Linked DNA regions of Homo sapiens: regions 1, 3, 4, 5, 6 and 7 are each linked to region 2. Evidence: promoter capture Hi-C in 16 types of primary human blood cells and fetal thymus (Javierre and others, 2016). All regions are on one chromosome and are shown on one strand. The core of a region is centred on a gene start or on the middle of the fragment in contact, and the rest is flanking DNA. Distances in the headings are between cores, read along the strand shown.

Region 1 (4,100 bases), core at 963-3,462, 570 kb before region 2:
CTTTCTGTTTGTTTTTCTTTCAGTGGTCAGGTCCCTCTTCTCTCAGGCCGCTGCGGTTTGCTGGGGGTTCACATCCGGCCCTGTTCATCTAGTTCACTTCTGTACCTAGAGATGTCACTCAAGGAGGCTAGAGAACAGCAAAGATGGGTGCCTGCTCCTTCTTCTGTGATCTCTGACCTCGAGGGTCACCAACCTGATGCCAGTAGGATCGCTCCTGTATAGGGTGTCTGACAATCCCTGTTGGAGGGTCTCACCCAGTTGGGTGGCACAGGGAACAGGACCCATTTAACAAAGCACTTTGTCCCTTGGTGGAGGGGGTGTGCTTCACTTGGGGAAAACAGAATCATTTGGGCTGCCTGGATTCCTCAGAACTACCATCAGGAAAGGCTAAATCTGCTGGTCTGCAGAGACTGTGGCCACTCCTCCCCCTAGGGGCTCAGGCCCAGAGAGATCACGGTTCTGTCCCTGAGACTCTGGCTGGAGTTGTTCAGTTTCCTGCAGGGAGGCCCCAACCAGTGAGGTTGGATGAGTCAGAGTCAGGCCTGAAGAGGCGCTCTGGCTGCAGTCTGCCACAGCCAGTGTGTTGGGCTGTGGGGGACACCACTTGGGACCAAGCCATCCAGCCTCCTTGGCTCCATCAGGGGAAAAGCATGGCTTGGAGCTATAGAGATGGATGCCGCCCTTCCCCCACCCAGGAAGCTTAGCGTATTAGGCCGTTATGAGTCCCAGTGCTGGCTGCTTCTCCGCCCACAAGGAGCTCAAACAGCTCAGACAGGAGGCAGCTGCAGCTGTGGTGCTGGTTGCCCCTCTCCCTGAAGACTTGGTAGGCTTGAGTAGATTCTAGCTGAGAGGCAGTTGAGAATCTGCACGGCTCCAGAGTTGGGACCCTAGGCCCCAGTGGCATGGGTTCGTAAGTGGGTCTTCAGCTCCATGGGGCGCACAGTTCCATGGAAAAAGCACGGTTTCCCCAGGGGGTGGCACACTCACTCACTGCCTCCTTTGGCGGGGGTGCTGGGGTTCCCCTGCTCCCTGTGGCTCTCAGGTGGGCTGCTGCACCACACTGCTCTTCCTTCCTCTCTGTGGATCATGCCAGCTGCCTAGTCAGTTCTGATGAGAGAACCTGGATACCTAGGTTGTTGGTGCAGGATTCACATGCTATTATGGTTCTTTTTGACAGGAGCCTCGATTGTGGCTGCTTCTAGTCAGCTGTCTTGCTCCCCACCCTCTTATGGAATTTTCATTGTCAAACTGTTCAGAATAAGAGTTCTGCCTGACCCAGGTGACCATCGCTACAGAAGAGGGCTCCCTTCCACATGAACCTTGGTCTTTGCTTTGGCATGGCCATCCATCCTTCTTATGCCTTTTCTGCCCAGGAGCATGCTGGTCCAGCCAACTGAGAAATGGATTAACAGCTCCTGGGTGGTGAGAGAAAAAGCTGCTGGCCACCTGCCACTTGCCATGTGACCTTACTTAAGTCACTCACCCCCTGTGATTAGACTTCTTCATCTGGAATAGGGAGCAGGTGACATAAACCGTGTGGCTAGTGCACCATTTTGCAAATCATCTCTTATATAATGATAATGGTGGTCAACAGGAGCAATAGGTATAGTCATCTTTTTGAAATAAAGCATCAGAAGAATGCAATTGGCAAAATAAGAAAGGAAGAAACAGAGAATAGAAAAGTGTTGGAGGCCGAAAGAATGAGAGTCGTGACCAACTCAGTGTACCACTGGAGGCTATATGAGTAAACAGCAAACTGTTCTCATGAAAGCAGGTTGTTAGCAAACTGACAAACTGCGTCTGCCACCCAGAGGGAATGCTGAGGGCAGTCGCGCCCCAGGCGCAGTGTTTCTTGTGATTAGGCACATCTGAAGCCTGTTAGCAATAATGTGAGCCTGTGATCAATCAAGCAGCTGACCAGTTGTTAGCTCCTCCTCCCTGCTCTTTCTGCCCAATAAATACAAAGGGCTGTGGAAGCTCAAGGCCCTTGCTCCCTAGAAGGAAGGAGCCCCCTGACCCTTTCTTTAAAACAGTTTCTTTTGTCTTAAGTTTTCATTTCTGCATTCATCCTCCTTCATTCAGTCTCATAGTAACTGTTGCAGAAAAGTATGAGTGGATGTCCCTCAATTGAAGAAAAGAAAGAAAGTGACAGAAAAGGCACAGATTAGAAATCGGTGAATAAAAAGTCACAAATTACTGGATTACAGTCACAAAACCTAAAGGGAAGTGTGTTCTGTCAAACACATGGGTGAACAACCAAAATCATAGAGGTCATGAAGCCCCACATGGATTTATTTAATTTATAAATTTAAGATGACCATTCCTTCTTCTCCCTCATAAACTAATATTATGTTGGGGCTAATAAGGTGAAGCTGTGGGGTGATTTACTATAACTATAAAAATTTCACTTTCTTAAAACACCTCTTTTTTTTCCATTTCCTGATACCTGCAACTCATTTGCCTGAAAACAAGATAATAGAGCTACTGACATTCATATTCATGAAAATGACTCACACCAGGTCTGTTTCTGGGAGCTGTTTTGATAAGGAAGGAGGCAGAGGAGAGAGCAAGAGGGCATCAAGCTACAAGGAAAATGACCTAAGGGATGTGGCAGAGGTGGGGGACGAAGTGATCTGGAGTCACCTTCATATCTATTGGGAACAACATTTCTGAATTTCTGTTGAGACTGCTGAGAAACATGAGAATGGTAAAAAAAAAAAAAAAAAAAAAAAAAAAAAAGACATGTAAATCTAGAAAAAACAGCTTCTAGACAATGTGGAAACTGTTGGCAGTTTTTAAAAATGCTAGGATTATTATTTCTATTATGAAGAGAAAATTGAGTATAATGAATAAATTCCTGGTTTCCATAGCAAGTTCAACTTCTTCATGCTGGGTATAAATAATAAATATATTGTTGTTACTGAAAATGTTTTCAGTTATGCCACATACATTAAAGACTGATAATTACATTAATGCAATATTGAAGTTATTAATACGAACTTTCAAAGAGATTATTTTTCATGAAGGCCAGGAGTTTTAGCTGAGAGTAACTGAGAGTAATTTTTTTTTGTTTTGCTTTTTTCCCCAACACAGAGTCTTACTCTGTCACCCAGGCTGGAGTACAGTGGCGCGATCTCGGCTCACTGCAACCTCCGTCTCCCGGGTTCAGGCAATTCTCCTGCCTCAGCCTCCCGAGTAGCTGAGATTACAGGTGCCCACCACCACACCTGGCTAATTTTTGTATTTTTAGTAGACACAGGGTTTCACCATGTTGGCCAGGCTGGTCTCGAACTCCTGAACTCATGATTTGCCTGCTTCAGCCTCCCAAAGTGCTGGGATTACAGGCATGAGCCACCGTGCTCAGCCAACTGAGAGTAATTTTTTTAACTGCAATGTAGAACAAGAATCTTCCTATGTGCAAAATAGTTTCATTTTTAAGAAACTGTTAGATTTATGTGGATTGTTAGCTTTTAGGCTGTAATGATCATTACCAAAAACAAATATACCTATCAACTTTTTATATTGATAAACAGTTTGTGTGTTTGGTTTTTGTTTTGGGTGGTACATACAAGAATAATTAAGAGTATAAATAGCACTCTGGATGGATTTCCATTATTCATGGTATTCCTATCTGCTCTTAGAATGAGTGGATAATGACCAGGGATTTCCCAGGGTGGTGGAATTCCCAATTATGATTTTTTTAGATATGAAATATAGGAAGCTTGATGCAGTCAGCAAATATCATCTCATAAAGCCACACTTTTCTTATCCACATTGAAAACACAATCCTTTTACCCTCTGTCCACCACTAAACACCTCCAAGGTTGGCCCCAGCAAGGAACTGTACTCACTCAAACCATCTCTGGGCAAAGGAAATTCGTGGAAACATATCACTACTACAGGAATTATCTGGGTCATAAACTAAAAAAGAAAAACAAATGCAAGGAAACTACATTTTAATTCCCCATTAAGCCATATGAAATGTGTATTAGGCTAATGTACCTAATATAGGCTGGCAATTCAACCAGAGGAGCTGCTCAGAGGATATTGAAATAAGTCATTTTGCTAATTCTAAAGAGTTTCTATAGATATGTACTGGA
Region 2 (4,313 bases), core at 438-2,937:
CGAATTTGCCAGATGGACACACACAAAAAAGGAATGGTAAGAGCACTCCGGGCACAGGGAAGTACAAGTACAGAGACATAAAAATGGTCAGAAACATGTAAGTTCAGTCTGCATACAGGCTGACTGGGAGAGTAACCAGAGTCCAGGCCTGCAAAGTGGGGCAAGCAGGGTACAGGTAGATGAAGAAAAGTGTTATGTGCCCCACAAGGAAGGGACTGCAGGAGTGTAGGCATGGGAGTGATGCCAATTGTGTCATTAATATCAGTAAGAATATCAATAGGAATGAAAGTGGCTGACATTACTTGAGAACCTCCTATAAGCCAGACATGGGCCAAATACTTACACACATTATCTCAGTTTAGCTTCACTACAATCTTATGAGGAAGGTATTATCCCATTTTACAAGTGAGAAGACTGAGCTTTAAAGGGAGCAACTAGATGAGGCGAGGTTCTACTGTTTATGAGTGATAGAGCTAGGATCCAAAACCAAGGAACTCTAAGGTCTGTGTTCTCCGCTGCCTGCTCGCCAGCGTGCATATTTAACGTGGAGGGGTAGGAGGGTGGCAGGCATGGCAGTGAGGGGGGCACTAAGGCACCCACCCAGGAAATAGGTGGCTAGATCTCGACCACAGGGTGCCAGCTGCAGGCTGCAGGAGAGGACATGTGAGAAACACGCATACAGAGGTAGCACCGGAGACGAAGTGGGATCTGGCAGCGAGAATGAAGGAAGAGTCGCGGATAACAGCAGCTGTCTGAAGAGGTGGTGATTCCATCATGCAAGCCAATGGGTAGGAACAAGCACTGAGAGCCGGGCAGGGGGATGCGGAGTGAGGGAAGATGCTGAGGTCAAGGTCTCCCAGGCTACCATGGAAGGAGCCAATGGGCAGCTAGAGATTTAGGTCTGGAACTGAGAGAAATAATCAGCTATGAAGGTACAGACTTGGCCACAAACATATTGAAGGCATGAGAGTGGTTGAATTTGTCCAGGGAGAATGTGAAGAACAGAAGGTGATAGAACTGTAGCAAAACCCAACTATTGAGGAAAATATTTTCATGCCTGCAAAAAGAGAGAGATCGAACTGCCTCCTTTAGAAACCTACTTGGGAAAGGGCTTTCTTTACAAGTAAGGCAAGTTGTCATTACTGGTGGGGGAAAAAAATTGGTACTGCGAAACCAACTTATTTCCTACCACATGTGAGGTTTTGAATAATATCTGGGTGGCATATTTCTGCTGAAGAAAATAAGCCAGTTCAATGGTGTATCTATTAAATAAAAATAGTGCTAATAGTTTATCAGAGTTATCACCACAGACGTGCCTAGCCACCCTGAGCCTATGTGGCCAATGTCAGTAATTCCACTCTGGACACAAACACTGTTGGCTTTGGATGGAAGTGCCGGACACTCACAGCACTCCGAGGACATACTGTTTTCTAGCCTTATTTATGTTCTCTCTTCACCCTTCAGCCTAAAAAATTACCACAGTGCCACTTACCTACCTTAATGGGAATCTGCACAAAAGGCCATTTCTCCAGTTTCTCTCAAAAGCAAAGGAAAACTTCCCAATATTAATATGTAGCAAAAAGAGGGAGAAGAAAAAGCCTGTTTGGTCCGCCCTCCTGGCTGTTGCTACCTTGCAGCTTATGACATACACATAGAGGGAGGTCTGATGAAATGAACGAGACAGTCAGAGAGCTACTCCATTCCCGTGGAAACCAGGAGTCCCTTGGTGCAGACAGCTCTTCCTACTTTCCCATGCAGTTCTTTTGTGCGACTTTGAGGGGCTCGTGAATGATTTCTAAATGTGTGCCTGCTGAGGCGAGCCGCACAGGGAGGGAGGAACCCAGCCGAGCCGTGCCAGAGGAAGCCAACAGGATCCTAGCAGTGCGGGAGCTGGCTCAGCTCTTGCATGCAGTTTTTGAAGTCAGCAAAACAGAAACCAAATTACTATCATATTATGCTGGTGGAAGATCAAGAAGAGGGGACTCTACACCAGTTTAATTACTGTGAGAGATGCAGCGAGTCACAGAATAACAAATGTATCTCATGTGTGGACCCTGAAGACAAATGTAAGTTCTCATGCCGCTATATTTTATTGCTGTGTAATTTTCTTTCCGGTTTGAAATCATGCTTGGCCAACATGTAATCATTTCAATGAGAATTTCCAGGGAGGAAAGTTGTCTGCTAATCTTTACTTAAGACTTTTTTGTTTTCCTTTTATTAGCTAAGCAACATTATAGGAGCTGAAATTCCTGACAGCAGCTGTGGCAATTCAGCTTAAGAATGGCTGAGAACTGTAACCCAAAGTACATCCAATTACTATGGGATTAACACTGGATGTATTTTTAATTGACTTTCTTAATGTAGAATGTGTACATCCCCACTGTTTCTGATTGCATGCTATTTTAATAATACTGTTGCTAAACTAGTACCATCGGCATAACCAACAAAATGAGATATAGTTAAACAAGAGTCCCAGTAGTTATAAAACTTTTCTTCTTTGTCCAGGACATTTATCTTCCCGAGCGCTCAAAAAAAACCCTGCAACCTCTATGCTAAAAGTTCATTCTGCTTTTTTGTCCTCGGTTTGGTGAGAAAATAATAAAACCAAACAGTGGACTCTCCTAAAATTGTGAATGAAGAAAACTTACAGCCACCACAGTTCAGTTCTTTAACTATCATTGTAATAATGGAAGACAAAAATCCAGCCCCGGGAGAACAGCATGTACACCAGCCTCAGTGTTACAGAGTGTGGGTACATCAAGGTGAATGGTGAGCAGAAACTATAACCTGTTAGTCCTTCTACACCTCATCTGCTACAAGTTCTGGCTTAGACATGGATATTCTTTGTGAAGAAAATACTTCTTTGAGCTCAACTACGAACTCCCTAATGCAATTAAATGATGACACCAGGCTCTACAGTAATGACTTTAACTCCGGAGAAGCTAACACTTCTGATGCATTTAACTGGACAGTCGACTCTGAAAATCGAACCAACCTTTCCTGTGAAGGGTGCCTCTCACCGTCGTGTCTCTCCTTACTTCATCTCCAGGAAAAAAACTGGTCTGCTTTACTGACAGCCGTAGTGATTATTCTAACTATTGCTGGAAACATACTCGTCATCATGGCAGTGTCCCTAGAGAAAAAGCTGCAGAATGCCACCAACTATTTCCTGATGTCACTTGCCATAGCTGATATGCTGCTGGGTTTCCTTGTCATGCCCGTGTCCATGTTAACCATCCTGTATGGTGAGTGGCATTAGTTTCCCAGCTATATTCGCACTGGTAATAAAGAGCATGTGCATGCCACCAGCAGATGAGATGGGGCTCAGGGGGCAAACAAACTATAAATAGAAGTCTTTGTTTATAGACTAGAGCCTACTATGTTACTTATATTTTACTCTTAAAATGGGATTTCACATAAAAATCAGACAGTCTATGACCTGTGATCACTGGAGAGTTTTGTGCTTCAAAACGCGTACATCCTGTGTAAAAATGATCATTGGAGAGTTTTGTGCTTCAAAACATGTACATTTAATGTAGAAATTTTTATAAATTACCCCATACAGTCATAAACCAATAACTTACCCATCATTCTGAATCTACTTGATTTTTGCTTCTTTATATTCCCAACCAATATTCCAGCCTTCAGGACAGAACAGTTTTAATCTTTGTCACACAGTTTTCAGCACTTTTAATGGAGTGATAAAGCCTTCCCAATTACTTTGGAACATTTGCAGAGAGAACATTAGTGGTGCAATAGGTTTTATGTTAAAATATGCAGAACCTCAATTAGAATAAATGAATTACTCCAGTTTTAATTGTTCCCTGCCCAGAGAAGCTAATTTGGAAATGTGCCTTTGAATTATATCCTCAACTCTTTGAAAATGCATATGCATAAACTCCTCCAGTCTGGTTTGGAGGAGGGTGGGAAACAAATGGGAAGGGATTAATCTTGCTTTCTTCTCAACAGAGTTTGAAACAGTCAGACCTCTCAGCAAGGGACCAGAATGTGATATTCTTTCCAAATTATGAGTAATACAGCCAGATACCTCCTTAAAGGAGAGACTATTGTGACTGCTGACACAGGCACAAGCAGCAGTCACTCAGAGCTTAGAGACAGGTTATGATAGCTATCTTTAAAGGGAAATTTTCTGGTCAAGTCTTAGGGGCTAAGATTAAAAAACATCAACCCAGCCCTAGAGAATGTGAAGGAGGAAGGCGGTACGCAAGGGCGAGCAGGCGCCAGTTTGCACAAAGCTAGTAACACTCATTCCAAGTCCAGCCTTCACTTGACCATTTAAATGCCACACCGGA
Region 3 (3,752 bases), core at 260-2,759, 710 kb before region 2:
TAACAAAAGGAGAGAAACAAAACAACTGGGATTAAATTCTCCTGCCAGCCCAGCAGAATAGGGCCCAAAATAGAAATTGAGTAGTTGAAAGTAAAGGAGGCTATAATGCTTACACACAGAAATTTACAGACTGAGATTCATTCATTTAACACAACATTGACATAGAGCCTTGTAGAATGGAACTTGAATCAACATTTTAAGTTTTTTTAATGTCCATTTTTTACTATTTCTTATCCTATCACATTTCATTTTATCTTTTAATTCTATTTTAATTTTTTTATTGAGGTAAAATACACAAAATTTATCATCTTTCCCATTTTTAAGGGTACCATTCAGTGGTAATATGTACATTTATATTATTTTTTCCCCCCTTTCTTACCCCTTCTCCCTAGTTTTCCTGGCCTCTGGTAACCACCAATCTACTCTCTATCTTCATGAGATCTACTTTTTTAGCTTCCAATATGAGTGAGAACATGCAATATTTGTCTCTCTGTGCATGGTTTATTTCACTTAAGATAACAGCCTACCTCTAGTTTCATCCATGTAGCTGCAAATGACAGGATTTCATTTTTTTATGGCTGAATCACATTCTGTTATGTATATAAATCAGATTTCCTTTATCCATTTATCCATTGATGAGCTCTTAGGTTGATTCCATATTTGGCTATTGTGAGTAGTGCTGAAATAAACATGGGAGGGCCGATATCTCTTCAATATATTGATTTCCTTTCTTTTTATATATACCCAGTAGTGGAACTGCTGGATCATACAGGGGTTCTATTTTTAAGTTTTTTGAGGAACCTCTATACTGTTCTCCATAGTGGCAGTACTCATTTATATTCCCACCAACAATGTATGAGGGTTCCCCTCTCTCCACATCCTCACCAGTATCTTTTATTGTCTGTCTTTTTGATAAAAGTCATTTTAGCTAAAATGAGATGATATCTCATTGTGGTTTTGATTTGTATTTCTCTGATGATTAGTGATACTGAGCATTTTTCATATACCTGTTGGCCATTTGCATGTCTTCTTTTGGGAAATGTCTGTTCAGATATTTTGCCCATTTTTAATCAATTATTTGTTTTTCTTGCTATTGAGTTGTTTGAGCTCCTTCTATATCCTGGTTATTAATCCCTTATCAGATGGACAATTTGCAAATATCTTCTGCCCTGCTGTACGTTTTCTCTTCACTTTATTTCTTTTGCTGTGCAGAAGCTGTTTAGCTTGATGGAATACTATTTGCCTATTTTTGCTTTGGTTGTCTGTGCTTTGGGGTCTTACACAAAAATTCTTTGCCCAGACCAATGAAGCATTGCTCAATTTTTTTCTAATATTTTCATGGTTTCAGGTTTTAAATTTAAGTCTTTAACCATTTTAAATATGATTTTTGTGTATGGTGAAAGATAGGGGTCTAGTTTCATTCTTCTGCATGTAATTATCTAGTAGTAAGTAGTAGCATGTAGTTATCCCAGCACCATTTATTGAAGACACTGTCCTTTCCCAACAAATGTTTTTGGCGCCTTTGTTAAAGATGAGTTGATTGTAAATGCATGAATTCATATTTGGGTTCTCTATTCTGTTCCAACGGTCTATGTCTATTTTTAAGCCAGTAACATGCAATTTCGATTACTATAGCTTTGTAGTAAATTTTGAAGTCAGGGAGCATGATGCCTCCAGTTTTATTCTTTTCACGTAGGATTGCTTTGACTGTTTGAGCACTCTTGTGGTTCTATATGAATGTTGAATTGTTTTTCTATTTATGTGAATAATGTCATTGGTATTTTGATAGTGATTGTGTTGAATCTATAAATTACTTTGGATAGCATGTCTACTTGAACAATATTAATTGTGTCTTCTTCAATATTTTCATCAGAGTTTTATAGTTTTTTTGTATAGCTGTGTCACCTATTTGGTTAGATTGATTCGTAAGTATTTTCTATTCTTTGTAGTATTGTAAACGGGATTGCTTTCTTTATTTCTTCAGATTGTTCACTGTCGGTATTTATAAATGCTACTGATTTTTGTATGTGGACTTTATATCCTGCAACTTTACCAAATTTGTTTATTATTTCTAAAGTTTTTTTTTGTTAATTCTTTAGGTTTACCTAGGTATAAGATCATGTTGTCTGTGAGCAAGGCTCATTTGACTTCCTCCTTTCTAATTTGGATACCCTTTATTTCTTTTTCTTGCCTAATTTCTCTGGCAAAGACTTCCAGTATTGTGTTGAACAAAAAGTGGCTAAAGTGGGCATCCTTGTCTTATTACAATCCTTGGAGGAAAGGCCTTCAATTTTTCTATGTTCACTATAATGTTAGCTGTGGGTTTCTTATATATAGTCTTTATTATTTTGAGATGTGTTTTTGTCTACATTCAATTTGATGACAGTTTTTCATCATAAAGAGATGTTGAATTTTATCAAATGTTTTTTCAGCATCTATTGAGACAACCATGATTTTTGTTCTTGATTATATTAATGTGATGTATCATGTTTATTGATTTGCGCATGTTGAACCATCCTTGTACCCTTGTGATGAATCCTACTTAATCATGGTGAATGATCTTTTTAATGTGTTGTTGTATTTGGTTTGCTAGTATTTTGTTGAAGATTTTTACATCTATGTTCATCAACGATATTGACCTGTAGTTTTCTTGTTGTGCCCTTATCTGATTTTGATATCAAGGTAATAATGGCTCTGTAAATGAGTTTGAAAGTATTCCCTCTATTCAATTTTTTTTTGAAGAGTTTCAGATTGAGATTATTCTTTAGATGTCGGGTAGAATTCAGCAGCGAATCCATCAGATCCTGGTCTTTTCTTTGATGAGAGACATTTTTATTATGGCATCAATCTTGTTATTTGTTATTGGTTTGTGGAAGTTTTCTATTTCTTCATGGTTCAATCTTGGTTGTATGTGTCAAGGAATTTATCAGTTTCTTGTAAGTTTTCCAATTTGTTGGCATATAGTTGTTCCTAATTATCTCTAATGATTCTCTGTATTTCTGAGGTCTCAGTTGTTATGTCTCCTTTTTTCATTTCTGATTTTATTTGAATCTTCTCTCTTGTCTTAGTGTTGCTAAGCATTTGTCAATTTTGTTAGTCTTATCAAAAAAACCCAACTTTTCATTTTGTTTATCTTATGTACTGATTTTTTGGTCTTAATTTCATTATTTTTTCCCCTGACCTTTATTATTTGTTTTCTTCTATTAGTTTTGGGTTTGTTCTTGATTTTCTAGTTCATTGAGTTGCATTGTTAGTCTGTTTATTTGAAGTCCTTCTACTTTTATGATATAGCCATTTATTATTATATAAATTCCCTCTTAGTACTATTTTTGCTGTATGCCATAGATCTTAGTATGTTGTATTTCCATTTTCTTTCAAGAAATTATTAAAATTTTCTTAATTTATTTTTATTGACCCATCGTTCATGCAGAAGCATGTTATTTAGTTTCCATGTGTTTGTGTATTTCCCAAGGTTTCTCTTATTGATTTCCAGTTTTATTCCACTGTGGTCAGAAAAGATACTCGATATGATTCCTTTTATTTTGAATTCATTCAGACTTGTGTGGTGGATTAAAATATGGATTATTCTGGAAAATATACCTCCATATGCTGATGAAAAGAAAGTGTATTCTGCAGAAGTTGGGTGACATGTTCCATAAATGCCAGTTAGGCCTATTCGATCCGGGGTGCAGTTTAACTCCAATGCTTTTTTGTTGACTTTATGTCTCTCCATTACTGACAGTGGGGTGTTA
Region 4 (3,752 bases), core at 132-2,631, 650 kb before region 2:
AAGCAACTCTGACTGCATTTCTCATGTCGTTTTTGGTAATAAGCAAATGTGAGATGTGGATACAAGCTGATATATATCTATTTATATTGGTGTACATATGTTCCTCTTTTGTGCATGTTATGTAGAATCTGCCTCTTATTTTGTCATCACAACTAATATGCATAACCATGGCACAAAGTCTTCTACAGTGGACTGATAACAAGTGAAATCCTTCACATCTCAAATGAAGCTGATGTTCCATTCAGTGTTAGCATATGGTCACCTACAAAACCCTGTCTGTCTGTGAAATCTGAATTGTGTATATTTTGTTCTAGGTCTGGTAAAAAAAAATTCCCTCACTTTAAGCATGTTTCTTTGAATTTATCTTTGCTCATCTGCATCCCTGATAACTAGTGAAACTAAGGTGCTTGAAAATGATTGCTGGCATGTTTGTAATTCTTATAAGGAAGGATAGGAAGCATCTAGGAAACAAAAGGTTTCTGAGTAATATAATCAAAGAAAACAAAACCCACCATATTCTGGCTTCTATAAATAATGTAAACATCAGTGGTCATAATAAGCAGCCATGGAGTTGAAACAACAGTTGCACAGAGGTTTTACTCCCCTTCCTTGGAACAGAGATATGTTTGGTAATGGCTATGGTCTGAATGTTTGTGTCCCCTCCACATTCATATGTTGAAACCTAATCACTAATGTGGTGGTATTAGGAGGTGGGGGGTCTTTGGTAGGTGATTTAATCCCGAGGGAGGAGCCCTCATGAATGAGATTAGTGCCTTTTTAAAAGAGGCCGGGCGCGGTGGCTCATGCCTGTAATCCCAGCACTTTGGGAGGGCAAGGTGGGCAGATCACAAGGTCAGGAGATCGAGACCATCCTGGCCAACACAATGAAACCCCGTCTCTACTAAAAATACAAAAAATTAGCTGGTCATGGTGGCGGGCACCTGTAGTCCCAGTTACTCGGGAGGCTGAGGCAGGAGAATGGCATGAACCCGGGAGGCGGAGCTTGCAGTGAGCCGAGGTCACGCCACTGCACTCCAGCCTGGGGGACAGAGCGAGACTCTGTCTGAGAAAAAAAAAAAAAAAAAAAAAGAGGCCCCAGTGGATGCAGCGAGAAGCCTCTATCTATAAATAAGGAAATGGGATCTCACCAGTTACTGAACTCGCCAATACCTTAATCTGGGACCTTCCAACCTCCAGAACTGTGAGAAATAAATTTGTGTTGTTTATAAGTCACCAAATGTATGGTATTTTGTTACAGTAGCCCCAATGCGCTAAGACAATATTTTTAAAAGCAATAATAGGATCATGGAATATGTTGATTCAAATGTTCCATGGGGATCTGTCTTTAGTACAAAAAATGTCATGTTTATAATAATACAGACATTTAAATTCAGATCTCAGAAAAATTAAGGTATATTCTTATTTTGAATTTCACCCAGGTAATACTCTAGTTAGACTATTTGAGAAACATGAAAGTACAATCTCATTAATAACTTAATTTTAGCAATGAGAGAGCTCTGATGGGCACCTTCATGTCCTAGGTAAAATGTGCTTTTTTGTTTTGTTTTGCATTACTCTTCTAGACTTAGTGTCTTTATTTTCACTGTTTCCCAGAGAAAGAATAATAGTGAGAACTTCAAGCCTGGTAAGAGAGGAGGCTTTATACCAGGGATAAATAGAAAACCAAATTAGAGAAAGGAGGCTTCAAGAACTCATAAGCATACTTCCCGTTCAGGTTGGTAAGTAATTAAAGCAGTCATTGGGTGGTCATTCTTCAGCTACTGATCCATCTGGGAATGGCTCCTATACTCCTGGGCACATTATGGGCACATTATAGGCACATCGCCTGACACCTTAAACTCGTGAAGCCTCTGCCCTAGTTTTCTGCTTGGAGGGCTTTTAGTCTCTCTAGAATGTCCAAAGGGGAGCTTTCCTGCTGCATTTCTTTCAAATCCATTTGAAACCCTTACACCTGAGTTCTTGTTCAGATACAAGGCACAAGGGTGGTATGCATCAAAATGTTGGAACCACCCAGAATTGTGACCCATCCCTCACCTGGGGATATGAAACTATCAATTACTGCAACAGGAAGCACCTATAATGAAATCCCGAGGAGAAACTGAAGGAAAGAACACCCTGTCATTAGCTCCTCACATATACACATAAAGGTGGGAAGAGCAAACTGGAGCGTGGATAAAGCAATACGTGGTATTTACAGAAAATCATTTTTCAGCCAAGGTTAACTAATAATTATAACAGTAAGTATCACTTATTAAATGCTTACTTTGTGCCAGACACTGCTAATCACTCCCTCTGGACTATCTCATTCAGTCCTCACAACATCCATGAGAGGTAGGTACTATTATCCTGTCTTATAAGGAAACAGAGCTTTAGAGAGGTTATTCTGTTGTTTGATTTTTTAAGACAGACTCTTTTTAAAATATTTTGTCAGATGTCATCACACTGCATCTGAAAAATGGAGTCTTACAATTGCTTCAGCCAGCTAGAGTCATGTCTGTTCAGGCAGAGACATCAAGAGTGACAGGACAACCTGCAGAATGTGTACCAAAGATTTAGAAGAAAATCCCAGGGGGCAGTGGTGAGGCTTTAATCCTCAAGAGCCAAATGGGTTGTGGGGATGGTGAGAGAGACGGTATATTAGATTTTGTTAGCACCATTTTCCAATTTGGAATTAAACGTTGGCTAGCTCTGCATAACTGTGAAGTCAGCTCCTGTAGCTTGAGGTTTCCTTACAAAACACTGCATTACCCATGCTCTGGATGGACACCGAAATGATAGGGTGTGGAAAAACATAGTTGTCCAGTGATTCAGAAGAGTCAAACTGTGTGTGTGAACAGGTTTTAGAAATACATTAACCAATTTCTTTCACACATATTTTCCTTTTAACATACACACAAATGATGTATGATAAAAACCCATGGCTAATTAAATGTAGGCTTTCATTCTAAAATAAAGTGTTCAGCAGATAAAAGGCATTATGTCATAATCTATAATCGCTAATGTCTTCAATATAATCACCAGTGTCTTCAATTTATTAGGTAAATGCCTAGGACGAGATAGAGAGAAAGGTTTGTCTGCCTCTAGATATCAAGTTCTGAACATTAAGCCATAGTGTATTCACTAACACTGTTTTAAAAGTTCCTTTGTTGCAGACAAGCATGGCAAGACCACTACCTCTCTTTGGTTGCTACATCTGACACACAAAAGTAATAACAATAATAAAAATGTCATGTTAAATTTGTGTTGCTCTTCAGTTTGCACAGCTGTTTTGTTAATTTAACTTGTTGACTCTTTACAACAATGCTATGAATTGGAAATTGTTTTCATCCCCCATTACATGTCAAAACAGAGTTCCAGATGAATCCTCACACGTATTGGCTGATTTATGGTACGTTTCCTAGGAAAAGGTCTGTGAGCTGGAAATGTTTATTCAAGAAGTTTCTTGGTAAATGCTGTCAGGAACAATGACCTTTGGGGCTGGATGAGAGCAGGATTGAACAGTGTCGAGTTGAAGGCCATGCAGTTACAACAAAGGCCTCTGGTGATCCCATGGAGAGCTCTAGAGTTGGGATGGTCATTCAGAGTTGCCCTCGATTGAGGCAAGGGTTGTGCCTCTGTATTAACTAGCCATGAGATATGGACTTGCCCCAGAGAGGGTTTAATCTTTAGTGAGGCAACTCCCTTCAATGATAGCAATTCTTGAGGAGTGGCTCAGCTCTCAACACTTAAGA
Region 5 (3,694 bases), core at 51-2,550, 690 kb before region 2:
GATACAGGCCATAAACCTTGATGGTGTTTGTAAGGTGCTAACTCTGCAGGTGTACAGAGTGCATTAGCTGAGGGAGCATGACTACCTGCACCTAGATTTCAAAGGTGCCTCAGAGAACCTTGAGGCCCACGCTTTGGACCTGCTGCAGGAGTGGGGCTACCACAGAGAGCTCCAATTAGGGCAGTGCCCAGCAGAGCCCTAGGGTCAGGGCCACTGCAGAGAGCCCCAACTTAGGGCAATGCCTAGTGGAGCCACTGGAGCAGGGCCATCCCTGAGACCCCAGGCCTGAAAAGCCACCTGTGTGCAATGCCAGCTTGGGAGAGCTGTAGGCCTCTGACTCAAACCTGTTAGAGTTGCAGTGTGGGCTGTGTCCAGAAAAGCCATTGGGCAGGGTACCCTGGACTCTTGGGAATGCAACTCCTGCCCCAGTATGTCTGAAAAGTGGGACATGGAGTCAAAGAAGATTATTCTCAAGCTTTAAGATTTAATGTTATTTTCCCTGTTGGGTTTTGGACCTCCTTGAGACCTGTTACCCCTTTATGCTTGCCTAGTTTTCTCTTGTGGAATGGGAATGCCTATCGTATGTTTGTGCCACGATTATATTTTGGAAGTGCATACTTGCTTGATTTCACAAACAAGCTGATTTTACAGCTGGAGAGATATTTGCCTTAGGTTGCATTGTGCCTTGAGTCTCACCCATATCAGATTTAGATGATATTTAGATGAGACTTTGGACTCAAACTTGAAAGTTGATACTGGAATGAGTTAAGAATATTTCGAGCTATTGGGATGGAATGAATGTATTTTGTATGTGAGAAGAACATGAATTTTAGGAGACCAGGGGCAGAAAGCCATGGTTTGGATGATAGTATTCTCTCCAAAATTCAAATAGAAACTTAATCTCCAATACAACAGTATTAAGAGGTGTGGCCTTTGGGAGGTGATTATGTTGTGAGGGCACCACCCTTGATATAGTTTCAATGTATGTCTCCACCCAAATCTTTTTTTTTTTTTTTATTATACTTCAAGTTCTAGGGTACATGTGCACAATGTGCAGGTTTGTTACATATGTATGCACGTGCCATGTTGGTGTGCTACACCCATTAACTCGTCATTTACATTAGGTATTTCTCCTAATGTTATCCCTGCCCCCTTCCCCCACCCCATGACAGGCCCTGGTGTGTGATGTTCTCCACCCTGTGTTCAAGTGTTCTGATTGTTCAATTCCCACCTATGAGTGAGAACATGTGGTGTTTGGTTTTCTGTCCTTGTGATAGTTTGCTCAGAATGATGTTTTCCAGCTTCATCCATGTCCCTATGAAGGACATGAACTCATCCTTTTTTATGGCTGCATAGTATTCCATAGTGTATATGTGCCACATTTTCTTAATCCAGTCTATCATTGATGGACAATTGGGTTGGTTCCAGGTCTTTGCTATTGTGAATAGTGCCACAATAAACATACGTGTGTCTTTATAGCAGCATGATTTATAATCCTTTGGGTATATACCCAGTAATGGGATGGCTGGGTCAAATGGTATTTCTAGTTCTAGATCCTTGAGGAATCGCCACACTGTCTTGCACAATGATTGAACTAGTTTACAGTCCCATCAACAGTGTAAAAGTGTTCCTATTTCTCCACATCCTCTCCAGCACCTGTTTCCTTTTTTAATGATCACCATTCTAACTGGTGTGAGATGGTATCTCATTGTGGTTTTGATTTGCTTTTCTCTGATGGCCAGTGATGATGAGCATTTTTCCTGTGTCTGTTGGCTGCATAAATGTCTTATTTTGAAAAGTGTCTGTTCATATCCTTCACCCACTTTTTGATGGGGTTGTTTGATTTTTTTCTTGTAAATTTGTTTAAGTTTGTACAAATCTTATATTAAAATGTAATCTGCAAGGTGGGAGGTGGGGCCTGGTGGGAGGTGACTGGATTATGGGGGCAGTTTTCTGATGAATGGTTAGCACCATCCCCCTTGGTACTATCCTCATGATAGTGAGTGAGTTCTTGTGAGATCTGGTTGTTTAAAGGCATGTAGCATCTCCCCCCTCACTCTTGCTTCTGTTCTGGTCATGTGACATGCCTGCTACCCCTTCACCTTCTGCCATGATTGTAAGCTTCCTGAGGCCTCCTCAGAAGCTGAGCAGATGCCAGCACCATACTTCCTGTGCTGCCTGCAGAACCAATTAAACCTCTTGTCTTTAAATTACCCAGTCTTAGGTATTTCTTTATAACAATGTGAGAATGGACAAGTACAACTCTTATGAGTGGGATTAGCGCTTCTACAAAAGGACTCAAGGTTGAAAGAGATGCACTCTTGCCCTTCCACCTTCCTCCATGTAAGGATACAACAAGGCAGCATTCTGGAAGCAGAGAGCAGCCCTCACCATACACCAATTCCAGTGCCTTGATCTTGTACTTCCCTGCCTCCAGAACTATAATAAATAAATTTTTGTTCTTTATAAATTGTCCAGTCTAAGGTGTTTTCTTACGGACAAGACAATGTGGAATTGGAATAAGTATTAATTATCTGGGGAAATTAGCAAAAATATTGGAAAAAACTGATGAGAAATCTTTTAGAGCAGATTTTTACAATATAGATATAAAAATCTATCTTCTTTACTGTATTCTTTCTTAAAAAAAAATTTTTTTTTTCATATTTTCCTTACCCTTGAATCCCCAGAGCTACAAGATGAAGTCCATTGTCTCCTTGTATTTCTCCTGATGCATTCAATCTAATCCCTAACATTTGCCATATTAGTTTTGTCTGCCCCCACCCCCAGTCCCAGGAGAAGATAATCCTTCCCTAGGGCAGTACAGCCAATTACTGCTTTTCTTCCTACTACTGGCACCTCTGCTGCATCCGGTGCCTCAGCACCCACATCTTATTGGTTTCTGTAGTTTTGGCCAATAGGAGATCACTAAGCGTTGGTGCCAAGGAATGCACAAAGATTATCTGAGCCTGAACATTATTGGATGTGTCTGCACCAACTCCCCATCCCTTTTCCTGTCACTGAAATCAAATCCTACTAAAAACACTGATATATGTGTATGTGTGTGTGTGTGTGTGTTTGTATACATGTGCACATATGTGTGGCAGATTCTCATTTGTTACTCAGAATGACTACATCTCTTTGGAGCAGCAACAAAAAAAATATGAGCAATTTCCCTGAACCCCAAAGCATGATTTAATCTGATTATTAAAGGAACTTTTCTCTCTACCCCTAGTTGCTCACTGGCTCCTGAGGGTGGCATATCTCATTTTCATGGCGAGAAGGAGCTCAGTTCATTCTCTGAATGTATTTTTTCCTCAAAAGCAACAATAATTTCTGGGATACTCTATTTCACCTCCTCATTATTTTCCCTTTACAACTTGTGTTTTCACACTTTCCTATTCATATTTTCTTTAAACTGGACCTCAGATTTAATATTTCCCCCTTTTTGATATGTGTCTTTCTACTTCAACAAAATATCTTGGACACATACTCCATTTTTCCTCTGCTGGGAATATGACTGAACAAGCTGTGGTCTGTACCCTGAGGAAGCTCCCACAGCACTAAGTTATCCTTTATTTTATTTTTTTAAGAGACGAGGCTCACTCTTTCATCCAGGCTGGAGTGCAGTGGTGCTTTCATAGCTTACTAAAGCCTTGAACTCCTGGCCTCAAGCCATCCTCCTTCCTCAGTCTCC
Region 6 (4,272 bases), core at 861-3,360, 630 kb before region 2:
TTATGGTAGACTAAATAATGGTCCCCCAAATGCCCATGCCCTATTCCCCAGAACCTGTAGAAATGTTACCTTAGAGACTTTGCAGATGTGATTAAGGATCTTGAATTGGGGAGATTATTATGGATTATCTGTGTGGGCCTTAAATGTCATTGTAAGAATCCTTATATGAAAGAGGCAGGGTGAGATTTGACTAGCAGCAGAGAAAAAGATGGGGTGGTGGCAAAAGCGAAGAATGCAGTGAAGTGCTTTGAGGATGGAGAAAAGGGCCACAAGCCAAAGATGAGACCTCACTAGAAGCCAAAAAGAGGCAAAAAAAAATGGATCCTCCCTTCAGAACCTCCAGGGAAAAACAAGCCCTGCTGGCACCTTGATTTAAGCCCAGTGAGAAACATTTCAGACTTCCAACTTCCAGAACTCTGAGAAAATAAATTTGTGTTGTTTTAAACCACTAAGCTTCTGGTCATTTGTTACTGCAGCAATAGAAAATGAATGCAGCCATTATTCACAAGGAATGTTCCACCAGTGTTACTAAGGCACAAGCGTGAGGATCAATATTGTTACATGTAACACTAAGGACACAGTTGTAAATGAACAGATTCAAAGACAAGATTCTGGGGAAGATAATACTATGCACATAAACATAATTAAAGCTTCTAAGGTCTAATATCAGTATTTGAAATACATAAAGGAAATGATCAGAATGATCAGAATAAAGAGAATACACCAAAAAAAAAGTAACTTGAATATGAGTAAAGCCCTGTTACATCCAAAGGAAGACTATATTGGAAATCATGGCAAAGATCTTGGGCTGCTGGGACAAAACCCCTAAAACCTCAGCATATAAAAGATTTATAAAAAGTCTTTCAAGCAGATTGGTAGCTTCCTCTATTATCTAGTTGCCTGACCCCAAGTTAGCTTTCCTGGGAGCAGACAGTCATTCTGTAAAACCTTCTATAGAACTGAACCTCTTAGATCTCAGTTAAGCTGAGTTTCATATAAAAGGTGACAGGTCCTTGGGGCTGAGAGCAGGATTTCACTTTTTTGGCTTGGCTTTTTTAGCACAGTTCACATGATTAGCATTAAAGAGGAGAACAAAGGATGAGAAGAGGTAAGGTTCCCAGGCTAGGTCAGGCTCAGGACAACTTTTTGCTGCATGGTGCCGAAAATGGGTAGATTGTTTTCTTGCTGTTAGTTGGCTGAGGTATATCAAACCTTGAAACTGCCCAATTTTATGGAACAAAAGATCACACAAGCCTAAGAGAATCAATAAATAAAGTGCTGGCAATAGAATTTCTTCCAGTGAAACAGGCACATTGAATTTCTCAGGAAATGATTTCAATTCCTAGAGAAAACTGTATTCAGCTTCTTGATTATTGTACAATTTATCTCAGGGGTTTTTCATTCTCTTTGGAGTAAAGTGTTTGCTTTCCAGAGAAAACAGCAAACCATTAATTAAAGCTGCTTCAAAGCAGTAAAATAGTAGACCAAAGCAAACTGGTATGAAGTATGTAGACTCTGCTGATTAGAGTTGTTTCTAATAAAATGCATCTTGGAAAAAGGTAATATATTTGTTAAGAAACTCAGCCAGATGAATAGAAAAATATAGAAAACAGTATTTTCTGACTGTAGCAAAGATAATACATTATTTTGCTCTGAGGGTCCAGAGCAAGTAGGGTGCTAATGGCCATGTGAAACATTTTGGCCTTTAGCTATGGGAAAATAAAAAGCTTTTGAAGAGTTCTGTGTGGGGTGGGGGTGTAATATAACTAGATTTGCATTTTGAAAAGGTTATTCTGGTACCATGTGGAGAATGGATTGGAAAGGGGCAAAGGTAGATAGGAGAAGCTAATTAGGAGAATGCTGCAGTAGACCAGGCTAGAGATAATGGCATATTTGGGGCTTAGGGGACAATAATGGAACCAGAGAAAGGTGAAAAAAATTCAGAGAGACTTGGGAAAGAATACGAAATAACTTATTAATGACTTGAATATGGAAGGAGGTATTAAGAACTCCTAAATTATCAATGCTTGGAGCAACAAGGTTATATAGCTTTTAAACATTTAGCATCCATTGATTTGATTGATTGATTGATAGGCTCTAGCTAAGCTCTGCAGGCTGGAGTGCAGTGTTGGGATCACAGCTCACTGCAGCCTACATTGTCTGGGCTCAACAATCTTCCCACCTCAGTTTCCCAAGGAGCTGTGACCACACACGCACACCACCATGCCTGGGTGATTTTTTAAAAAATTTTTTGTAGAGATGGGGTCTCCCTCTGTTGCCTAGGCTGGGCTTGAATTTCTGGGCTAGAGTGATCCTCCCACCTTGGCCTCCCAAAACTGTTGGAATTACAGGAGTGAGCCATCATGTCCAGCCCCTTTTCAATCTTTAAACTGTGTTTTAGATACAAATGTTCCCAGCTGACACTTTGCAAAAATTATAAATTGCACTAAAATGTGGAGATTTGGGGAAGAAATCTGTCCTGGGAAAGCTTAGAAGTTAAAAATCAATATTGAAACATACTTTTATTTATTTACAAAACTTGGTATAAAACTTAGTTCTCTAAGATCATGCCAATAGTCCACTTTATCTCCAACACTTAATTCCAGTTTAATGAAGGAATTGGATGATTACTTCAGAATTTTGAAATAAAAAATTATCCTGAATAAGAAAAGTTAGTTACTTTCTGCTATTTTAAAGTACCAGAATTTATAAAATACACTTACCCTGAGATCTTCTTGGTCAAAGTTTCATAGTATCATAAATTCTGGTAAAGCTGATATGTCACAACTATTTTTGGAGTCCATGTCACCTCTGATGTCTATTTCTGGTTGCCGTGGCTATGAGAAGTGGGTGTCCCAGAAATAGGATGACTTACATTTTTGTTTACTCATGTTATCTTGACTCTACTTTTTAATAAACATTGCTGTTACTATAAAAAATATCTCAGTTTGGGCTGGGTGTGGTGGCTCAAGCCTGTAATCCTAGTCAGACCCTATCAGTGCTCCTCAAAGCTCAAGTCCATCAGTGCAGGGCCATACAACTAATACCCCTACTTATAGGGTTAGGAATGGCTACTGCTACAGAAACCAGAATAGTAGGTTTATCTACTGCATTATCCTACTACCACACACTATCAAAGGATTTCTCAGACAGTTTGCAAGAAATAACAAAATCTATCCTTACTCTACGGTCCCAAATAGACTCTTTGGCAGCAGTGACTCTCCAAAACCGCTGAGGCCTAGACCTCCTTACTGCTGAGAAAGGAGGACTTTGCCCCTTCTTAGGGGAAGAGTGTTGTTTTTACACTAACCAGTCAGGGATCATACGAGATGCCACCCAGCATTTACAGGAAAAGGCTTCTGACATCAGGCAACACCTTTCAAACTCTTATACCAACCTCTGGAGTTGGGCAACATGGCTTCTCCCCTTTCTAGGTCCTGTGACAGCCATCTTGCTATTACTCGCCTTCGGGCTCTGTGTTTTTAACCTCCTTATCAAATTTGTTTCCTCCAGGATCGAGGCCATCAAGCTACTGATGGTCTTACGAATGGAACCCCAAATGAGCTCAACTAACAACTTCTACCGAGGACCCCCTGGACCAACCCACTGACCCTTTGGCTGGCCTAGAGAGTTCCCCTCTGGAGGACACTAACACTGCAGGGCCCCTTCTTCGCCCCTATCCAGCAGTAAGTAGCTAGAGCGGTCATCACCCAATTCCCAACAGCAGTTGGGGTGTCCTGTTTAGAGGGGGGATTGACAGATGAAGCCAGTTGGACTTCCTGGGTCAAGTGGGCACTTGGAGAACTTTTCTGTCTAGCTGGAGGATTGTAAACGCGCCAATCAGTGCCCTGTGTCTAGCTAGAGGATTGTAAATGCACCAATCAGCACTCTGTAAAATGGACCAATCAGAGCTCTGTAAAATGGACCAATCAGCAGGACATGGGCAGGGACAAATAAGGAAATAATAGCTGGCCACCCCAGCCAGCAGCGGCAGCCTGCTGGGGTCCCATTGCACATTGTGGAAGCTTTGCTCTTTCGCTCTTCACAATAAATCTAGCTGCTGCTCACTCTTTGGGTCCATGCCACCTTTAAGAGCCGTAACACTCACCATGAAGGTCTGTGGCTTCATTCTTGAAGTCAGCGAGACCAAGAACCCACTGGAAGGAACTAACTTCAGACACACTAGCACTTTGGGAGGCTGAGGTGGGTGGATTGCCTGAGCTCAGGAGTTCGAGACCAGCCTGGGCAACATGGTGAAACACTTGTCTCTAC
Region 7 (4,000 bases), core at 282-2,781, 600 kb before region 2:
AGAATGCTTTCATTTCCTCTGCCTCTCCCATCATCAACCACCCTACTCCAGCTCTCTCCTCTCCACTGATTTCCTGGGCTCTGTCCTGCTGCCTCGTGCCCAGACAGTCTCTTTTTTCAGGGTTACGTGCTCCAGTAGTCAAGCCTCACTCACTCTCAATTTAGATGTCACATTGGCAGTGAGGCTATTGACTATCAGCACAAACCCATCTTCCTTACTCTGTTTTCCTGTGATGGGGCTGGAACCCTGCAATTCACATTTAGTTTTTGCCATGTGGCTCCCTGTTTGGTTCTTCACTGGTGGAGGCTAAAAGGAGGAAAGGAGAAGGAACTTACTCTTTCCTGCTTTGCTTCCTGTTGCTGTCAACATCGTCTCAGAATTAGCTCTTCATGCTGGACGTGGCAGTCTGTTCTACTTTACAGTTTCATCCACACTTCCAGAGGCAGCCTGGTTGCCACCCTCCGAGCAGCCAGCACCAGCCTGCACCAGCCAGCAGTTTCCCCTCTTTACAGGTCTGGTTCCCAGTTCTGCAGGACTTCTCACCCAAGCTTTTAAATTCTAGTAATCCCCAAAGCGTTCATTGTTCCTCAGCCCTGGGGGTGGTAGCTGTGCTTCTCACATTTACTTCCTCTGTGACAATTCACCGTCTCCCTTTGCCTTTGCTGTTCTCTATAATTGTCTATATCAAATTCTCTGCTAAAATAACTAGGTGGTTTCAATATCCTGGCTGTACTCTGCCTGATAACAGTCAAAGCTCCCCCTAAGTGTCCCACTCCAAAGCCTTCCTATAAGTTGGACCTCACATGACCCAGGCCAGTGGCTGGTGCAGTCCTACTTGGAAGTAGGAGATTGGGCTTGAAGGCCTTTCTTTGCTCCTTTCTTCACTGATACTACTTTGATGGTGAGTCTGGAGGGTCATTCATATCCCAGGGTATTTTGTGAAAATTTCCTAACTCTGATTTATACGTAACCTCCCAGGATGGTCCACATTTCCTCTTCAGGCCTCAGGCTCTTGGGAAGTTAAACTCTCTTCTGAGAAATATACCACCTTGAAAGTAAGTTGTATTTCAATGGCCAAGCAATTCCTTGGGAATAAAAAGTGGCTGAAGGCTAAATGAAGACAAATGGATTGCTTATGCTTGAAAAACTTATGTAGTATACACATGGGAAATTCAAGTTCTTTCCAAAGAGCTGGTGGGTTTATAAAGTGCATGTAAATTTTCAACTTGGACTTTAATCTGTTTGGTATATGACGAATGGATTTTTCTAAATAGCTATACTAGGGCCACAATTTTTAGCTTAGTTATCTATGATTTTTTCATTAAAAAAAGTACAGTTTGTTCTGTGCTTTTATTTTATTGGTTACCAGAGGTGTAAATTTATTTTAAAATTCTCATCATATATCAGGCACCCAGTGAATTCCTTCAAAATGTTTATGTACCTTGTCTTCCTAAGCAGGAGAGGAATACAGGCAGGGTTGTGTGATGACAGTGATGAATGAGCAGTGCCTGGAGCAGGGGCCAGGATGAAGGGAGGAGATGCTTTGTAGTCTCTCCTTTTCAACTCAATGCTGGATGAGAAGCATTTTGTATAAAGGTTCATTTTGTAATTTCTGGAAAAGCCTGGATGACTGAATCTTTTAAAGTGGCAAATGGTTAGAACTCTTTAGAAAATCTGTTATTTGTCAAATTAACATCAGAAATCCTTAAACGGGAATGTTGTAGAGAGTGTGTGTGTGTGTGTGTGTGTGTGTGTGTTACTAAGTTCATCCAATCACAGTATATTCAAATCATGGTAAAAGGGTGAGTTTACTTTCATTAGTATGTGTGTGTGTATATATATATATACATATATATATATACACACACATATCTACACATATATATGTGTATATATGTATTTAATATAGATTTTTTAAAGCATTTTTAGATTCATTGCAAAATTTAACAGAAAGTAGAGTTCCCATATAGCCCCTGCCTCCACACACCCACAGACTCCCCCACTATCAACTGGTGACATTGTCAGTGTTTGGGATTTTTGCCATTCTAACAGGTATGTAAGACATCTCGTTACTGTTTTAATTTGCCTTACCCTAATGACATATGATGTTGAACACGTTTTCACACGCTTATTGCCACCTGTATATCTTCTTTGGTGAGGTGTCTATTCAGATCTTTTCCCCATTTTAAAATTTATTTTCTTTCTTGTTGAGTTTTAAGCATTCATCATATATTTTAGACAACAGTCCTTTATCAGATGTGTCTTTTGCAAATATTTTCTGTGTCTTCTTGTTCTCTTGATATTGGTATATTGTTAAAGTACTGTATATATACATGTAGTTTTAAGTATAGGAAGACATTTTATATACATTATTTTATGTGATGATGCTCACAATAATCTCATACCATTGTTATCAGCCTTTGTTCCCTCCCCACCCCATAAAATGGGGATAATAATATCTCTTTCAGCATTGTGAGAATTAAATGAGTAAATACACATACGTGTAAAGCTTAGAACAGTGCCTGATACACCATACACGCTATAGAAGTGTTAGCTGTTGTTATTCTTGCTTTGAAAATGAAACTAAGACACAATCAGTGGGAAGGGAAGCCACTACTTGTTCTCAAAACGTTCTACTCCAATTGCAGTGCTCTTTCAACTGCAGCACTAAAGAAAGAACAGAGTGACAAGCTCATAAAGTTGCTCTTCTCTTACACAGTATGACTGAAGTTGCCCCTGCCTTTCCCTGGGGACAAGCTTTGATATCAGGAACATATTCCTTTGGATTTTTAAGGGTTTTTGCTTCTGATCTGAGTAGTAGCATTAGTCCATTAGCAGTTATTTGTTGAGGGACTGATCTTAAAGATTCAAAGTGATGGAGGACCTGTTAGGAATCGACTATTTCAGACTCTGCGGCATCTAATAAACCTCAGGTAGGGAAATCAGTGAGGCATAAAGAGATTGATTGACTGGGCAGGGTGCGGTGGCTCATGCCTGTAATCCCAGCACTTTGGGAGGCTGAGGCGGGCGGATCACGAGGTTGGGACATCAAGACCATCCTGGCTAACATGGTGAAACCCCGTCTCTCTTAAAAATTCAAAAAAAAAAAAAAATTAGCCAGGCGTGGTGGCGGGCACCTGTAGTCCCAGCTACTCGGGAGGCTGAGGCAGGAGAATGGCGTGAACCCGGGAGGCGGAGCTTGCATTGAGCCGAGTTCACGCCACTGCACTCCAGCCTGGGCGACAGAGTGAGACTCTGTCTCAAAAAAAAAAAAAAAAAAAAGAGATTGATTGACTTTTCCTATATTCCATTGACTCATGTGCAGAAACACAACTGCAACTTAGATCTCCAGGTACTTAATTGGGTGATCTTTCCATTTCACCATCCTCCTACTTGCTTTTGATTCTCCTCCTTCCTTTCCTTCTTCCCTCCCTTCATCCTTCCTAATCCACTTCTATTTCTTCTTTACCTTGTGTGCTATATGAAATATAATTAAGATACAGAAAAGTGCTACACACACATACACACACACACAGCCTTTATAAAGCAAACTCCCACAAATCACCACCCCAGGTCAAACTGGCCCCTTGGAAGCCACCATGTACTCCTCCCTGATCACCAACCATTCTCTCCGTTAACCCCACTGAAGGCAGCCAGTACCCTGACTTTTGAGTGTCATCATTTACTTGCTGTTTTGTAGTTTCACCGTTTTTGTGTGCATTTCTATTGAAAATAAGTTAGTTTTGTCTATTTTTACAGCTGTTTAAATATATTATTGAAATACAATAAACTGCACATATTTAAAATACACATTTTGGTACATTTTGACATACGCACACTCATGAAACCATCATCATGATTAAGATAAGGCACATATCCATCATACCAACAGTTTCCTCATGCATCTTTGTATTTCCTTTTTTGGGTTGCTCCCTCCCCCCTGTTTCATTCTCCTCACACAGCTTTCTCTAGACGATCACTGATCTGCTTCCTGTCATTA

Evidence for each region. The method cuts DNA at HindIII sites, captures the fragments that hold promoters and counts their contacts. A CHiCAGO score of 5 or more calls a contact.
Region 1: a contact is called between a fragment that was not itself captured here and the fragment with the promoter of HTR2A in region 2, in 5 of 17 cell types (M2 macrophages, M0 macrophages, M1 macrophages and 2 more). The highest score is 16.6, in M2 macrophages.
Region 3: a contact is called between a fragment that was not itself captured here and the fragment with the promoter of HTR2A in region 2, in 3 of 17 cell types (M2 macrophages, M0 macrophages and M1 macrophages). The highest score is 9.9, in M2 macrophages.
Region 4: a contact is called between a fragment that was not itself captured here and the fragment with the promoter of HTR2A in region 2, in 1 of 17 cell types (M2 macrophages). The highest score is 6.7, in M2 macrophages.
Region 5: a fragment that was not itself captured here is called in contact with the fragment with the promoter of HTR2A in region 2 in 3 of 17 cell types (M2 macrophages, M0 macrophages and M1 macrophages); the score reaches 6.6 in M2 macrophages.
Region 6: a contact is called between a fragment that was not itself captured here and the fragment with the promoter of HTR2A in region 2, in 2 of 17 cell types (M0 macrophages and M1 macrophages). The highest score is 6.7, in M0 macrophages.
Region 7: a contact is called between a fragment that was not itself captured here and the fragment with the promoter of HTR2A in region 2, in 3 of 17 cell types (megakaryocytes, M0 macrophages and M2 macrophages). The highest score is 7.0, in megakaryocytes.

The regions. Positions count from the first base shown.
Region 1 is chr13:47,460,433-47,464,532 of GRCh38, reverse strand. No RefSeq gene overlaps it. Among named protein-coding and RNA genes, the nearest start is that of LINC00562, 470 kb to the left of the region's middle. The HindIII fragment of the contact is 3,022 bases long and covers 702-3,723 here.
Region 2 is chr13:46,894,427-46,898,739 of GRCh38, reverse strand. HTR2A (5-hydroxytryptamine receptor 2A) reads left to right here and starts at 1,687. Exons shown (of 4, transcript NM_000621.5): 1 at 1,687-2,066; 2 at 2,506-3,245. The coding sequence starts at 2,834. The HindIII fragment of the contact is 5,377 bases long and covers 1-4,313 here.
Region 3 is chr13:47,606,781-47,610,532 of GRCh38, reverse strand. No RefSeq gene overlaps it. Among named protein-coding and RNA genes, the nearest start is that of LINC00562, 320 kb to the left of the region's middle. The HindIII fragment of the contact is 6,911 bases long and covers 1-3,752 here.
Region 4 is chr13:47,548,265-47,552,016 of GRCh38, reverse strand. No RefSeq gene overlaps it. Among named protein-coding and RNA genes, the nearest start is that of LINC00562, 380 kb to the left of the region's middle. The HindIII fragment of the contact is 4,880 bases long and covers 1-3,752 here.
Region 5 is chr13:47,589,018-47,592,711 of GRCh38, reverse strand. No RefSeq gene overlaps it. Among named protein-coding and RNA genes, the nearest start is that of LINC00562, 340 kb to the left of the region's middle. The HindIII fragment of the contact is 1,646 bases long and covers 478-2,123 here.
Region 6 is chr13:47,520,846-47,525,117 of GRCh38, reverse strand. No RefSeq gene overlaps it. Among named protein-coding and RNA genes, the nearest start is that of LINC00562, 410 kb to the left of the region's middle. RefSeq lists an enhancer at 2,584-3,783. The HindIII fragment of the contact is 761 bases long and covers 1,730-2,490 here.
Region 7 is chr13:47,494,716-47,498,715 of GRCh38, reverse strand. No RefSeq gene overlaps it. Among named protein-coding and RNA genes, the nearest start is that of LINC00562, 440 kb to the left of the region's middle. The HindIII fragment of the contact is 1,961 bases long and covers 551-2,511 here.